Linked DNA regions of Homo sapiens: all the other regions are linked to region 2. Evidence: promoter capture Hi-C in 16 types of primary human blood cells and fetal thymus (Javierre and others, 2016). All regions are on one chromosome and are shown on one strand. The core of a region is centred on a gene start or on the middle of the fragment in contact, and the rest is flanking DNA. Distances in the headings are between cores, read along the strand shown. Region 1 has its middle 7.2 kb from the start of DDX60. Region 2 holds the start of MSMO1 (methylsterol monooxygenase 1). Region 3 overlaps NAF1 (nuclear assembly factor 1 ribonucleoprotein). Region 4 overlaps DDX60 (DExD/H-box helicase 60). Region 5 overlaps DDX60 (DExD/H-box helicase 60). Region 6 holds the start of LOC105377517 (a long non-coding RNA gene).

The links. Contacts are between HindIII fragments. The CHiCAGO score rates a contact against its expected background, and 5 or more counts as called.
Region 1: a fragment that was not itself captured here is called in contact with the fragment with the promoter of MSMO1 in region 2 in 2 of 17 cell types (total CD4 T cells and activated CD4 T cells); the score reaches 8.2 in total CD4 T cells.
Region 3: a fragment that was not itself captured here is called in contact with the fragment with the promoter of MSMO1 in region 2 in 1 of 17 cell types (total B cells); the score reaches 6.3 in total B cells.
Region 4: a fragment that was not itself captured here is called in contact with the fragment with the promoter of MSMO1 in region 2 in 2 of 17 cell types (total CD8 T cells and naive CD8 T cells); the score reaches 12.0 in total CD8 T cells.
Region 5: a fragment that was not itself captured here is called in contact with the fragment with the promoter of MSMO1 in region 2 in 1 of 17 cell types (erythroblasts); the score reaches 9.3 in erythroblasts.
Region 6: a contact is called between a fragment that was not itself captured here and the fragment with the promoter of MSMO1 in region 2, in 10 of 17 cell types (non-activated CD4 T cells, total CD4 T cells, total CD8 T cells and 7 more). The highest score is 23.3, in non-activated CD4 T cells.

What each region holds. Positions count from the first base shown.
Region 1 is chr4:168,324,643-168,327,342 of GRCh38, forward strand. It overlaps a transcript of DDX60 not described here. Among named protein-coding and RNA genes, the nearest start is that of DDX60, 7.2 kb to the left of the region's middle. The HindIII fragment of the contact is 9,534 bases long and covers 1-2,700 here.
Region 2 is chr4:165,326,301-165,329,000 of GRCh38, forward strand. MSMO1 (methylsterol monooxygenase 1) reads left to right here and starts at 1,369. Exons shown (of 6, transcript NM_006745.5): 1 at 1,369-1,464. RefSeq lists a silencer at 968-1,307 and an enhancer at 1,398-1,667. The HindIII fragment of the contact is 2,277 bases long and covers 1-2,201 here.
Region 3 is chr4:163,153,194-163,155,893 of GRCh38, forward strand. The region is part of intron 2 of NAF1 (nuclear assembly factor 1 ribonucleoprotein); the gene reads right to left. Among named protein-coding and RNA genes, the nearest start is that of NAF1, 12 kb to the right of the region's middle. The HindIII fragment of the contact is 1,597 bases long and covers 643-2,239 here.
Region 4 is chr4:168,302,065-168,304,764 of GRCh38, forward strand. It overlaps DDX60 (DExD/H-box helicase 60), which reads right to left. Exons shown (of 38, transcript NM_017631.6): 6 at 236-352. Among named protein-coding and RNA genes, the nearest start is that of DDX60, 15 kb to the right of the region's middle. The HindIII fragment of the contact is 2,001 bases long and covers 291-2,291 here.
Region 5 is chr4:168,256,932-168,259,631 of GRCh38, forward strand. All of the region lies in intron 25 of DDX60 (DExD/H-box helicase 60), which reads right to left. Among named protein-coding and RNA genes, the nearest start is that of DDX60, 60 kb to the right of the region's middle. The HindIII fragment of the contact is 781 bases long and covers 913-1,693 here.
Region 6 is chr4:163,169,829-163,172,528 of GRCh38, forward strand. LOC105377517 (a long non-coding RNA gene) reads left to right here and starts at 2,448. Exons shown (of 3, transcript XR_939414.2): 1 at 2,448-2,530. The HindIII fragment of the contact is 3,131 bases long and covers 1-2,700 here.

The sequences.
Region 1 (2,700 bases), core at 77-2,576, 3.0 Mb after region 2:
TGACAGCATCAGAGATGGAGCAGTCCTCAGTTCGCCAAATAATTTTCAGGAATTTAACCAAGGTGGCAGGGTCTTATACTTATGCATGAACCAATGGTCCATCGCCTTTTTAAAGCTCCTTTATGAGTATTTGCATGTCTTGAATGAGTATCCCAAATGAATCTCTGCAGAGGAGGATATCATCAATGTATCGTACCTGTGCTTCTGGAGAAGGGTAGAAGCAGTTAAGATCTTGTCTGCAAAGACTGTGTGCAACAGAAGGCTGCTGAGGTATATCCACGGATGGCCTGGTAGAGGCGTATTATGTCCCTTCAGAAGTGAAGCCAAACTGCAGTCAAGAGGCTGGTGAAATACACACCGAACAGAAAATGTTAGTGAAATCTATTATAGCAGATTTTTTTAAAAAACAAATTTCTGGTTGGATAGAATCAGTAACTTTTTTTTGAGCATTATGTATGAGAGCCTTAAAGGGGCCCACAGCATTAAGTTTGTGAGGAGCCATTCATTCTTTCAAGGTTTAAGAACACGGCAAATAGGGCTGTTACCCACTGTTACCATATTGTTTTAGTTTTGATTTTTCTCTGACTCCAATGTGATTGTTTCAAGAGCTTTACCTGACATGTGGCTTTGTAAGAAAATTCAATGCTACTTATTTCTCCAGCTACAATAGGTTTCTACAAAGCCCAGATAATTGCATGCTTTCTTAAAATTAGGATGCCAACAATTTTTATTTTTTACAAAGAGAGTTCATTCTCTATTAATTTTGTTTAGGTTTGAATTGTGTAGTCATAACTTCAGTATTAAATTTATAAATCAGAAATAAACCTATGGTATTAATAAATTCATATGTGTATCTATGAAAAAGTGATTATGTCAATAACAATTTATTTACAGAAACAAAGGAAACATTTCCTCATTTAAGAATACATTCAAACAAAACCACAGATGCACGTATAAAATTAAAATGAGTACACTCCATCTGTGATATATCTGCCACAGGCTTTTTCAACACCAGTTGACTGGTCAGTGAGAGGAAACATTGGGGTCTAAGAATATGCCAGTTCCATAGAAATTCTTTCCCCAAATAGTCGTGAACAAACTGCTTGGCCAACAGATACACAACAGACCTCAGGATTTTAAGTTGCAGAGCAACTGTCTTCAGTGGTTGGCATTTCTTAAATACTTAAATCCTTCTTTGGTTCAACAGCTGATTTCCTCCTTTGTCATATTCTTTCCTATTTGTTTTCCCAGGGAGTGACAGCCACGTCTTTCCACATTAGACTTCTTGGGTAAGCAGCTTCTGAAATTGTCCCACAGCAGTCCATAGCTGTCCAGCGGTGACCTCTTTGCTTGCAAGTTGGATATCCCTTTTGACAAATATCTCTATGAGGCATGTATAATGTAAACTTTAAGAGAAACAAAACACTGTGCATTTTTAATTATGTCAAATAAGTCTTAAAGCCATTTTAAATGTTCAATTATTTCGGTAGATTACCCTTTTCCCTTTAGTGGAGAAAAATAAATAAAATAATGTAGAAAATCAAACTGTTTCAACTAGTCAATATGTTATCCTTTATTTCAACACAATTTAAAACATTAAAGCCTTCAGCCATAGAAAAGATGCTTACATTTTTAAATAATGCCTTAATAGTGTAAATGCAAATAAATAATTTCTTCTTCTTTCCATTAGCATTCAGTAATGAGTTTTTACTGTGCTATATCACTTTAAATGGTCCCTATGACCATTTAAAAATTTCATTTATTTCCTTAGCCATCCCACAAATTAAGAGATTTATGTTGTTTCCAATTATTAGTTATTATAAATAACAGGATGAATATGATTTTATACATGTCCTCAGAGTAAAGTAGAATAGGTCAAAGGATATGAACATTTTAAAGCGTGAATATTTTATTTTATTTTATTTTAATTTTATTTCATTTTGAGACGGAGTCTCACTCTATCACCCAGGCTGTAATGCAGTGGTACGATCTCGGCTCACTGCAATCTCCGCCTCCCAGGTTCAAGCGATTCTCCTGCCTTAGCCTCCCGAGTAGCTGGAATTACAGACACCCGCCATCACACCCGGCTAATTTTTGTATTTTTAGTAGAGACTGGGTTTCTCCCTGTTGGCCAGGCTGGTCTGGAACCCCTGACCTCAGGTGATCCGCCTGCCTCGGCCTCCCAAATTGCTGGGATTACAGGCATGAGCCACCTCGCCCAGCCTAAAGCATGAACATTTAAAAGTGTGAACATTTAAAGTGTGAAGAAACTGGTACACTTAGAAATGAATCCAAAGATTTGCAAATCTACAGACAATAGATGGCCTGGAATATAGGACACCTTGTTTCAGGGATTTAAAATCAATTAGGGTCACCTTTAGTGCTCTGGGTAAAAATATACTAAGTTCATATGTACATATTTTTTTAAGCCACTATATCACTTCTCGGCCTTTGGCTAAGATCAAGTGTTTAAAGTCACTATGTTTTGTAGTAATTTCTTACCCAGCAATAGATAATTGACATACATTTTGATTTGGGATTTTGGAAGCAGAGCACATCCAAGTGCAGCTGTGAAACTGAAGGACTGAAGATGAATAGAGGTGAGGATCAACAGATGTGAACAGGTCACAAAACAAGCATTAAGCAATATGTGAAGGTGTAGGATAAATAGAGAAACAGGTGATGATGTCTCCCAGGGTA
Region 2 (2,700 bases), core at 119-2,618:
ACCACTGTAAAGGCATCCTAAAGACAGGGCTGACTCTGACAACCAAGGGACAGATCCCATTTCTTTTCATTTGACGTGACCGCTGTCATGATACTTTACAAAGAATGTGTGTGCCAAACATGAGGGATAGACGAATAAGTACAGGTCACACTGAATCTAAAAAAGACACTTTTCAAGAGGGAACTTCCTCAAGGAGATAGTACCTGAATTGATGGGGCGGCATGGAGATGGCTGATTATTCCAGGCAGAAGGGCCAGTTTGAGCAAAAGCATGGAGGAATGAAACAATAGTATTCTGTTTTCAGAAGCTGTATATATTTGACACAATATACACATAATCAAAACATGTGTACGCCGTAAACACAATTTTTGTCAATTATACCTTAATAAAGAAGGAGGAAAAAGGGCCTTCACTAGCCCAAATGATGCCCCTGTGCGGTTTTTTCTTTAAAGGCACCTCTTCCGTTAAGTGAAAGTTTTAGTATATTATCACATCTGTACAGTTTTATTATTAAACCCCAGTACACAATATTTTAATGTTGAGAGATGGTGTAAACTGAGCTTTAGAGCTGCAAAGACCTGCGTCAAGCCCCCGCCCCCGCCCCCGCCCCCGGGCACTCATCGTCCAGCACAACAATTGCAACAACACCTGGGCGTTCTCTGCCCATGTAGCGAGGTCAAGGTCCTGGGAGCCGAACTCTCCCTTGATGTTCAATCTTTTTAAATCTTTCCCAGCCTTTATTTCTCATCTGCAAAATGACGATAATCGCATTTGAAATTCTCCGTTTTCAAAATGCAGGAATTTATTAAAGGATACGTAGGCTGGGGAAACAAGGGAGACGAAAGATCTAAATCTAAATGGTAGACCAGAAAAAGGAAGGCAAGGGTGTCTGGAAACACAAAACAGTCAACATAGATTTTAAGACTCATCTATACTCTCTTCTTCCCGGGTTTGGGAACTGCGGTTGCTACACAGGTCACATTTGAAATAAAAGTCCTGGGACGGCGGCCGGCGCGACACTCTCCCCCGCACAGCGCAGGCTCTCACTGGGAATCTGCCGGGACCGCAGTTGCCAAGGCGACTCCGCGCTGCAGGGCGAGGCGGCCATCCGTCTGTGCCCGCCCCCTCACGCCGTGGCGCGCTCTCACGCTTCCCCGCCTCCGGGCGCTCCGCGGTGCCGACCATTGGCTGGCTCTGCAGGTCTCACTATCCTCACTCCATCCGCGGAGCCAATGGCTGGGACCGCCAGGAGCTCGTTCGCGCGAGTCACACGATGTCGGCAACTGCACAGACCAATCACCGCGCCGAGAAGGCGGGGCGGGAGCTCTCGCAGGCCAATAACGACAGGACGGGCCGCCTGGCCCACCCGGCTCCACCCCCAAGCCAGGCGAGGCAGGTTCCGAGGTTGGAACACCTGGCGAGTCCTCGGTGTCGGTGGCCGGCAGTCATCTCGCGGCCGTTCAGGTGAGGGGGTTGGAGGAGTGGCTCATGAGCGAGGAAGGGGGAGCAGGCGGGCTCCCACCCGGTGCTCCGTGAGATCGAGGGGAGCGGGTTCTGGGTGCGGATGCACGCGCTGGGCGGGACGCTGGCAGTGGTACCCGAGACGGGGCGGAAGGAGACTGGAGTGAAGGTGGGCCTAGGCTAAGGTACGTGCTAGAAAGGATGAAAACGGAGTGAAATTCTTAAGTGATGGAACTAGGCTAGGGCATGTTTCTTGCCCTTTAAAATGTGTTGTCTTCGGGAGACAGGACGTAGAAGATAGTTGCAGCACAGGGTGATAGGCTGGCGAAAGTTATACAAAAGCAGGAACCACTAGAAGGAGGTAAGATGTAGTGTGCTTTGGGAGTAGTGGGGTTGGGAAGGGCGTCCGAGAGGAGGTTACTGAAGGATGACTAGGAGTTGAATGGGAGGACATCACCTGTAAGGGAACGATATTTCCGTGGGCAGAGAGGAATGAAGCAGTAGCAACCATGAGTGATCAGATACTGCAAAAATGTGAAGTGTAGGATGGCGAGAATGTAAGAAATGAAGAGTGAAGAAGTCTGGAAGGGCCTCGTGTGCATCAATCACAGCGGGGCTTGATCTTTATGCTTAGGGCAAGCACTCCCTTGAACTTTGAGTGTTTTAAGGAGGTTATCTCTGATGTTTAAATTTATATAGATCGTGGCATTGCATCTTAGAAATAAGGTTTAGGAAGGGCAAGCTTGGAGGCAGGGCAAGTCCAGAAAATGAAGGAGCTGGTGAAATCCGTGTTAAAGTGCCAAAGGACAGAGACTGGCTGACAGCTAAACTTCAAGGTTTCTGAGAATCCACAAATAACTAAATTTATCTAGTCAACCTGTTCCAGAACAGGCTTCCAGTCATTTAGGTTGCCCAAGAATGAGTAAAGGAAAAGGAAATTCAATTTTCCAAGACCTTGTTTCCCCTCTCCTCTTTAATTCCTTGTTCGGTTAGCAACAGTATATCCATTCCCTCGCTCCTTTGTGAAAAGTAAATTCCTGAATGTTAACTAAACCAAGTGTTTCTAAATTGGGTAAGAGTTTGAAGACTTAAGGCAGCAGAATGGGAGAGACTTAAAACGTTATGTCTGAGAATTAGGCATTAAAGGAGGCCTAGTATTTGGGCGGGGGTTGTGAGGAGCACATACTGAACCTTTGGACCTGTTGAGTGAGTTCATGTGCCTCTGAACTCTCTGACTGG
Region 3 (2,700 bases), core at 191-2,690, 2.2 Mb before region 2:
CCGAGTCCCATCGACCACCCAAGGGCTGAGGAGTACGAGCGCATGGCGTGGGACTGGCAGGCAGCTCCACCTGCAGCCCCGGTGCAGTGCGGGATCCACTGGGTGAAGCCAGCTGGGCTCCTGAGTCTGGTGGGGATGTGGAGAGTCTCTATATCTAGCTCTGGGATTGTAAACACGCCAATCAGCACCCTGTGTTTAGCTCAAGGTTTGTAAGTGCACCAATCGACACTCTGTATCTAGCTGCTCTGGTGGGGCCTTGGAGAACCTTTATGTCTAGCTCAGGGATTGTAAATACACCAATCGGCACTCTGTATCTAGCTCAAGGTTTGTAAACACACCAATCAGCACCCTGTGTTTAGCTCAAGGTTTGTGAATGCACCAATCGACACTCTGTATCTAGCTGCTCTGGTGGGGCCTTGGAGAACTGGTGTGTCAAAACTCTGTATCTAACTAATCTGATGGGGACATGGAGAACCTTTGTATCTAGCTCAGGGATTGTAAACCCACCAATCAGCGCCCTGACAAAACAGGCCACTCGGCTCTACCAATCAGCAGGATGTGGGTGGGGCCAGATAAGAGAATAAAAGCAGGCTGCCCCAGCCAGCATTGGCAACCCGCTCGGGTCCCCTTCCACACCGTGGAAGCTTTGTTCTTTCGCTCTTTGCAATAAATCTTGCTACTGCTCACTCTTTGGGTCCACACTGCTTTTATGAGCCATAACACTCACCGCGAAGATCTGCAGCTTCACTCCTGAAGCCAGCGAGACCACGAGCCCACTGGGAGGAACAAACAACTCCAGACATGCCGCCTTAAGAGCTGTAACACTCACCGCGAAGGTCTGCAGCTTCACTCCTGAGCCAGCAAGACCACGAACCCACCAGAAGGAAGAAACTCCGAACACATCTGAACATCAGAAGGAACAAACTCCAGACGCACCACCTTAAGAGCTGTAACACTCACCGCGAAGGTCTGCGGCTTCATTCTTGAAGTCAGTGAGACCAAGAACCTACCAATTCCGGACACACTAGTACTCTGTAATATAGGAACGTACAGTTTCCTGTGCATTCCTAAAAAAGGCCAGTGATGGCATTAAGTTGCCTCTTGATAGTAACAACTCTACCTATAAAAGTGATGCACATGAAGTCTCGCCCCAAATACTCCACAAAACATAAAAGGTATATAAAAACTAAATAGTATATACAAAATATGTAAGAGGTAAGTGAAACCATCCTTGTATAATTCCAGGTTAAGATCCTGTTATAGAGTCTGCCTTTGAAAGTACAGTTAAATGAAGCAGTATATATTAATTTTGAAAAAGGCACATATGTGGAGGTCTGAATTAAGGGAAAACAGATCTATTTGTTTCTTTTAAATGAGCATGCTAAGAGAGGAGGACAGGCCAGGAATGGTGGCTCATGCCTGTAATCCCAGCACTTTGGGAGGCCAAGGCAGGCGGATCCTGAGGTCAGGAGTCTGAGACCAGCCTGGCCAACATGATGAAATCCCATCTCTACTAAAAATACAAAAATTAGCCAGGCATGGTGGCAGGCACCTGTAATCCCAGCTACTCAGGAGGCTGAGGCAGGAGAATCACTTGAACCTGGGAGATGGAGGTTGCAGTGAGCAGAGATCGCACCATTGCACTCCAGCCTGGGCGACAGAGCAAAAGACTCCATCTCAGAAAACAAAACAAAAACAAAAAAAAAAAAACAGAGCGAGAGAGGAGAACAAAGAGGAAAAATAACTCAAACGCCAACAGGAAGGCACCCAAGAGATGTGCTTTCCATGAAAATTTTTGGCAGGTTCAGAGAGAACTTTAGAAGGTTCAAAGGGGATAGATCTCTGAAAGGTACAAAAAGCGATTTCCTTTGGCAGCCATGTCAGACAAGGTAATATAAGATTTTTGTTTTGATGTATGAATGCCAAATGTCACCATCTCTTTTTCAACTAGCAAATTTAATCTACTGTATCACTACCAAGCCTAGTCATTCTTTATCAAACTATCCTGCTGCTTTGCTTTTTTCTAAACACATTGTTGTCCAATATTTCTGTATTTACTTAATGTCTATTTCTCTAACTACACAATAAATCCAACCATAACTAAGACCTTTTTAGTCCCAATCATAACGAGGACCCAGTCTTGCTCATTGCTATAGCACCCAAAAAGATGGCTAGCACATAGTAGGTATTTAGTATTAATATATATCTATTAGATGAACTAACCTACCTCTTCAGTCCAAGCTTAGCAAAAATCTCAAAAGTCAGTCTTTGTCTGAGCAGAAATCAGATAATGAAAATATAACCCGATATAGAATCCTCAAAGAATGAAAAAGACTTGAACCTAATCTTCTCAAAAATAAAATTTAAAAGCCAGGCTTCCAAGGAAGCTTAACTGCCTAGGATTGATGCATAGGTACCTCTGGGTTGCAGTAGCAAACATTATTACAATTATTAGATTAACACTTGGCTCCCTGAAAACACACCTGCTGCCCCTCCTAAGATAATGAATAAATCTCCTCAGATATAAAATCTCCTTTAAGGAAATAAAAATCAATCACTTTGCTTTTCCACGTTTCAGGGAAGGGTGTATATGTGTGACAGAGAAGAGAAACACAGACACACTCCAATAAAGGGGAAAATACGGCCAGAAAACATACTGTGGGACATTACCACTCTGGCAGTGCACAGAAGATACAAAGA
Region 4 (2,700 bases), core at 41-2,540, 3.0 Mb after region 2:
TAGCAAAGAGACATGAGTGGAAAAGTCAGTGTAATTGGAATAAGGTCTAAAGTTTAGTTAATAGGATTGACACAATGTTAATTTCCTGGTTTTCATAAATGTTCCGTGGTTATTTAAGATGTTAACATTAGGAGAAGCTGGATGAGAAGTACATGAGAACTCTGTATGATTTTTGCAACTTTTCTATAACTAAAAACTTAGTTCAAATACAAAGCTTTTTAAAATGTTTTGTTACCTCTTCCGTAATATTATTCCATTTTAAACTTCCAAAAAGAGGTGCTAATGCTGAAAGCTTAAATCTTTCCAACTGGTTAAGCAGGGTTGTATAAGCATCTTTAATGTTCTGCTTATTCTGTAAAATAAAGAAAAATCAGAAAAGTTGTTATAAATAAAATATGTAATTATTTTCCAACTATAGAAAATTACATATTTTAGATATAATTATGTTACGATATATTTCTAAGGAAAAAAATATGCCAATGTAATTGTAAGTTTTAAACCCCATTGAACATCACTATTTTGTCTTTGAAAGTTAATTTTTGCCTAGGAATATAGCGTATTTTGTTTTTTAACAGCTTCATAAAAGTATAATTAACATAACATAAAATTCCTTCATTTTGTTACAATTCAATGGCTGTTAGTAAATTTATCAACTTTGGAACCAATATCACAATCTAATTTTAGAACACTTCCAGCACCCTCCAAAACACCGTCATCCCCATTTAATGCCATATATTTTAACAAATTTCAAACATACACATGAATGAAAGATAGCATAACCCCCCTTTCAGGTACCTATCACCCAGCAGCAGCCATTTTAAATATGCATTGTATTTTCAATTGTATTTCACATAATCCTCAAATTGACTAATAACATAACTTCTTTAAGGTGAATATTCAACAAATTAGGAAATAGATTTTAACAAAAATAAAATCCTTCATTAAAAAAATTATTCAGCCGGGCTCGGTGGCTCACACCTGTAATCCTAGCACTTTGGGAGGCAGAGGCAGGCAGATCACGAGGTCAGGAGATCGAGACCATCCTGGCTAACACGGTGAAACCCCATCTCTACTAAAAATGCAAAAAATTAGCCGGGCATGGTGGCAGGTGCCTGTAGTCCCAGCTGCTCAGGAGGCTGAGGTAGGAGAATGGCGAGAACCCGGGAGGCGGAGCTTGCAGTGAGCTGAGATCACACCACTGCACTCCAGCCTGGGCGACAGAGCGAGACTCTGTCTCCAAAAAAAAAAAAAAATACTCTTAAGGAAAGATTCGACAGTGTGTAGGTACTGTTAAAACTCAGATTTAGAAATTGCTCTAACAGAGTAAAATGAGAAAATTAATAACAGTACTTCCTTCCAATATAAAAATGAATCCCAGGGCTATTCCTGCTCAGAGTAGGCAACCAGAATTGAAAATAGTTTAATAATAGTCAAGAGCCACATAACAATGTTTCTTTCAGCCACAGACCACTTATATGTTGGTGATCCCATAAGATTATAATGGAGCTGAAAAATTTCTACTGCCTAGTGATGTCATAGTGATGTCATAACACCACAGTGCAATGCACTACTCAAGTGTTCATGAGGCTGGTGTAAACACACTTACTGTGCTGCCAGGCATATAAAAGTACAGCATAGGCTGGGCGTGGTGGCTCACGTCTGTAATCCCAGCACTTTGGGAGGCCAAGACGGGCAGATCATGAGGTCAGGAGTTCGAGACCAGACTGGCCAACATAGTGAAACCCCGTCTCTACTAAAAACACAAAAATTGGCCCAGCATGGTGGTGCATGCCTGTAGTCTCAGCTACTTGGGAGGCTGAGGCAGGAGAATCGCTCAAACCCAGGAGGCAGAGGTTGTGGTGAGCTGAGATCGCACCACAGCACTCCAGCCTGGGCAACAGAGCAAGGCTCTGTCTCCAAAAAAACAACAATAAAAAAAGTACAGCATATACAATTATGTACAGTATATAATACTTGATCATGATAAAAATGACTGCTACTGACTTATGACTTACTGTACTATGCGAATTTTTTATTATTATTTCAGAGTATACTCTTTTCACTTGTATTTTTAAAACAGCTGCCAAACAGCCTCAGGAGGCCCTTAAGGAGCTATTCCAGAAGAAGGCATTGTTATCATAGAAGATGACAGCTCCATGTGTGTTACTGCCCCTGAAGACTTTCCAGTGGGACAAGATCTGGAGGTGGAAGACAGTTGATGTTGATGATCCTGACCCTGTGTATGCCTAGGCTAATGTGTGTGTTTGCATCTTTTTTTCTTTTAAGAAAAAAGCTTAAAAAGTACATATTTTAACAGAAAAAAAGCTGACAGAATAATGATAAAAAGAAAGAAAGGCCAGGCACAGTGATTCACACTTGTAATCTCAGCATTTTGGGAGGCTGAGGCAGTCAGATTGGTTGAGCCCCAGAGCTTGAGACCAGCCTGGGCAACATGGCAAAACCTTGTCTCTACAAAAAATACAAAAATTAGCTAGGCATGGTGGTGCGCACCTGTAATCCCAGCCACTCGACAGGCTGAGGCGGCAGGATCACTTGAGCCCGAGACGTGGAAGCTGCAGTGAGCTGTGATCACATCACTGCACTCCAGCCTGAGTGACAGAGTGAAGACACTGTCTCAAGAAAAATAAAGAAGGAAAATATTTTTGTACAGTTGTATAATGTGTTTGTACAGCTGTCAAA
Region 5 (2,700 bases), core at 53-2,552, 2.9 Mb after region 2:
ACACTGGTGAAGTAAGAATTTTAAAACTGAGAGTCTATGCCACATGGCAAGAAATTTCATATAGTAGACAATAAAATAATGGTAATAGTAAAATTCAAGTTATACACAGTTGGCCGGGCATGGTGGCTCATGCCTGTAATCTCAGCACTTTGGGAGGCCGAGGTGGGCAGATCACCTGAAGTCAGGAGTTCGAGACCAGCCTGGACAACACAGTGACACAGAATTCAAAAATGAGCTGGGCGTGGTGGCACATGCCTGTAATCCCAGCTTGGGAGACTGAGGCAGGAGAATTGCTTGAACCTGGGAGGTGGAGGTTGCAGTGAGCTGAGATTGCACCACTGAACTCCAGCCTGGGCGACAGAGTAAAACTCCATCGCCCTTCAAAAAAAAAAAATTATACACAGTTGTCAGGCATTATTCTCAGTGACTTCAGTATGTTAACTCATTTAGTACTCACAACAATCCTATGAAGAAGGCACTATTAATATTAATATTTCTATTAATATCCTTATTGCCAGATTCAGTGACCTGCCCAAGAGCCCACAGTTTATATGTGGCAGAGTCTGGCCTGCAGGCCCCTGTTCTCAAATCCTGTTTTTAACTGACATATGTTGCTTCTCTTTTTACATTAATGCAAGTTACTGGGGCCTAGGAATATATTACTTTTTAAAATAGTGTCACTTTCATCATAGCACTTCATTTTTAAAAAACTCTTGTTCAAAGATCACTTAGAAATAATGTTGCCTCTTAAATCTCTCTGATAACCTACATTTTATGTCAACCAAAACAAAACCAAAGAAAAAATATCTCCAAATATGTTGACTATATTTGGAATTAGAAATGAGAATTATAACCCAAGATGCACAGCTATGGCAAGCCACATATGTATCTGAAGGGAGGAAGATAAAAGGAAGCTTGTACTGGCAAAAGGGGAAGTTCACATAAGCTGCTTAGAAACACAGTTCTTTGGTTTTGGAGACGCAAAACCAGAGCTGGCATCAATTTATCGGTGGAGATGCCATTACTGGGTGGGTGTTCTTTCAAGGGCATCTTATCTGAATTGCTTCAGCAGTAAATAAAGAACTGCCTGTGGGATTATTTTAGAAAGTCCTTGAGACAGTTTATCTCAGCCATGCAAGCATGAACAACCCGCCTTCATGCTCTCTCAGCTCCAGTCTGTTTGGATCTGACAAAAAGGGATCATCCTGGTATACAAGAATGAATGCGACCTAGAGATTAGACCTTATTCAATAACATTTTTGTAGCACTGTACTAAGTGCTTTCATAACTTATGTTTATTTAATTCTCACTCCAATCCTTTGTACTATTATTCTGATCATCTCATTTTGCAAATAAGTAAATTAAGGCTTAAAGTCATTAAGTAGCTGTCCAGAAATAACACAATTCATGGGGGCAGAGGTGGGATCCAAGTTTGGGTCTGGCCATGAAGTGTGTGCCCTTAAGCACACACTGCCATTGCCATCAAACACTGAATATGCTCCATGTATTTTTTTTTTAAGAGATCAGACTGCAAAAGGCTTAAGGGTACACTACTATTTGAAAAGCTCCTAGAGGTAAAACTTGAGCCCAGAAAAATCCTCAGATCTCTTGATGATCTGGGATCAAATTGTGTAATACCAAGGATGTTCACAGTTTATTTTGTAGAGAATTCAAGAGTCATATAAACATGCCAAGCTTCAATTCTTCAAGTATAATTAAACTTTTGATGTTTTCTGAAATATTTTAGTTTTAAAATATTTTAAGTATGTGAAGGATTTTGGAACATGCTACTCCCAAAATATACCACTCTGGCATATTAACTATTTTGAGTTGAAAGCACTAGAAAAAACAGCAGGGTCAAGAAGATCACTCTGATCTTCTTTCTTTTTCTTAAAAGTAGCAGATTAAATGCCCACAAAAATATGTTTTCATACCCGAAGGACAGTAACACTCCTATCTTCAAAGATGGGAACTTGAAGACAAGGGAAATCTATACTAAAAAACCTTGTTAAACTAACTCTTACCTTCCTAGTCACATCTTCACCCAAGTTACCCTAGCCTACACCCCTTTACTTTGTCACATTTTTCACAATTTACCACTCTTTGTCCAATTCACTATGTAAGTGTCCAACTCTAACTGCATCGTTGGGTTTTCAACTCCTTATGGAGCCTTCTGCACCATATAAAACATACTACATACATGTGCATGCTTTTCTATTGATTTGTCTTATATCAGTCTAATTCTGAGGCCCAGGTAAAAAAGCCTAAGGTGGTAGAAGTAAAATTTTGCCTCCCCTATATTTGTATGAAGGTATGAATAATAAACAGATATTTTTCAGTTTCTGTTTTGCAGTGAGGCTTTCAGAAATATCCCAGAGGTACAGAATTACTTTTGTTTCTAATTACAGTCTATAGCCACACTTGAAAGTGAAATGGGTGAGCTTTGTAAATCCTTGGCAGTGCAGAAATGTATTTTCCTTATCCCAACAACAAAGATAAAAGGAGTAATATTATTGCAATCCCCCAAATTTGCAAACACAATCTTACATTCACCCATCATCGTTATTTCAGAAATATATCATCAATGATTCATCCCTATATGTCTGTTTACATGTGAGCAAGTTTCATTAAACTTTTCCACCTAACAAAGACTCTGGATTTATTTACTTCAGCTTCCATGGCTTAAGTGTAGCTTGAAAT
Region 6 (2,700 bases), core at 115-2,614, 2.2 Mb before region 2:
GCCAGAATAAACTACTAAAGCATGAGACAGTCTCTAAGACTCATCTTTGACTTGAATAGAACTGAATGGGAGAAGTCACCTCTAGGAAAGCTGGTTAAACAGGACCACCCAACCACTGCCTCACTGACAATGACAAAAGGCTTTACAATGCGTGTGATACTTGAGCTGGACTTTTAAAGAGAACCATGAATTTGTTAATCTGAGAAAACAGGAGACCTTCACAGGGGATAATAAATAAGATCATTGTAATTTCCTGCTTAATTATTTATAAACTCTAAATATTTGTAAGCACACTTAGAATAAAATTCAGACTCCCTGCTTTGGCTTTCAACAGTCTACCTGATCTGGCCACTACTTACCTCTCCAGTTTCTATCTCCTACCGTCTTCCCCACCCTTGTTTCACATGAGCACTGGTCTTGATCTCCCTTCAACTCACCAAGTTAATTCTTCACGTGTGACATTTTCACTTTTCTGTTCTCTCTTCTCTTCATATTAACGTGGCCTTTTTACTCATTTATGGTTCTACTCAAACACTACACCTAAGAGAGAGCTTTCCAGACCACCCAATCTAAGTGCACCCCTCAATACCAATCACTTCCTAGCTTATAGCTCACTGTTTTTATTTAAATAGTATTTATCTTCACATGAAATTATATTTATTTACTTCTTTATTGTCTGTTTTTTCATAAAATTAAGTCTCAGGTGCCCAGGATCTTTGTCTAATTCACAGCTGTTTCTCTAAGTGCCTGGAAACAGAATAAATCCTATAAGGATTTTTGAATGGATGAATGAAAGAAAGAAAGAATAAAGCTCAATGGGACAATCAGAGTAAGGAATATGACTTAACAGATAATATCTGTTATTCTTTCAATTTAAATTAATCTGATGATATCTAAGAAAGGCTACTGTTTTTAAATAAAAGTCTTTTGTTTGTGTGGTGGAAATGTTTCTGTGTTTCAACATAATGATAGTGGTACCTATGCCTAGCTTTGAAGTAGGTCAGTGTTTCACAAATGGTAATTTTTCTAAGTGCTTGTTTCAGAATGTCCTGAATTTACCTACTTCCACAGCCTTCCTCTCAACCGCATTATTTCTAACAGTTGCTAAACTTAGCCTGAAGTCTTTAACCTAAGACTAAATCCAAAAAAACACCTTGGAAGACTGTGTAGCTTACAGGGTCACTATTAACGTTATGAGAGAATTTACCTTGAATTAAATTACAATTTAAATGGCATATTACATTTCAAAGGGAGCACGTAAAACTTAAATTATTTCTATAAATGTCACTGATTGATCTTAGTCTATTTCAATGTTTAAAAATACATGAATAGACACATTTACATTTCCAGAAACCTACAATGCACTTGCTAGATAAAAATGATGAGATTTTCTAATATATATCACAAAATGATTAAAAGCAGGTTATGTGACTGTTTGGGTGAGTTGCTATTCCTATTTATATATTGTAGCACTAATTTAAGTCAAGGTCATATGTTTGCATTGCCAACTAGTGTAGTAGGGAAAAGAGAGGTATAAGTGCTATTTTAACTCAAAATGGACTGAAACTCTACTGGACTCATTTGAGAGTATGGACAGAAATTATAGATTAGAGACTAGGCATCTCTTGCCACCTAGTCTCCTCTCACACTCAGCTTGTAAGAGAGTGACTTATCAGATAAGAGAGTGACATCTGACTGGTGATCTTGGGAAAAGGAACTGAGCATACTTGGTCCAGTATCTTTGTGTTATAGGAGATAGAAATTATTTAGGTAGAGAGTTAGGGTGAGTCCCAGGCAGAAAACTTTCCTTCTAACAAAAAGCAGCTCAGAAATAGCTCCCTTTTTAACCTCAATCAGTTCAAAGAAATCACTTCCTTTCTAACAAAGAGCAGCCTGGACGCTCAGGCTGTAAAACACATATAAGCAACTAAGGCACAGAGTGGGGAGTTTCCTGGGTAATCACCAAACTTCACATACATACAATGGGTCCCAGTAAAAACAGTGGGCCTTCATAAGCATATCTCTTTCTCTTTCTTTAGGCATACTAAGACAGGGAAGCTGGAAGTAGGCACAGGTGAGATACCTGCAGCTGCAAGAAGGTGCCTGGGAATAGGCACAGACACTCTTCCCTCCCTTTTAGCACACACAAACAGCACAGAGCAGCATAAACTAAGAGTGTACCCACATGATCAAAGAATGGGGTGGGGGCTGATAGAGACCCTGCTCTATGCAGATAGCACACCTGGTCCTAACCATTTGTTCGGGCCCTAGGAAGATAAGTCACACCCTCCTTACTAGCCCATTTATAAAAAACTGACATTTTTTACTACAACTTGGCAACCTGTTTGGGACCCCTCTCCGTGACCGAGAGCTGTTCTTTTCTTTTGCCGAATAAACTCCTGCTCCAGTCTCACTCTCTGTGGTTATGTGTTCATGTTCTTGATTTCCTCAGCTGTGAGACCAAGAACCTTGGTATTTACCCCAGACGATGAGGCCATTTTATACTTGGGGACCCATCCGGGATTTGAAGGTAAATTTATCGGCAGGATGAGTATAGGAGCGGACTCTATACTTTAATTTCCGAGGCTTCTCATCCTCAGTTTTTATTCTCTCAACTATCAAAAACCCAGGCATTTGACAGCTGATTAAGGAGCCACCAGGGCAAGTTGCTGCTCTTGAAGACTCAAAGGAGAGGCTTGC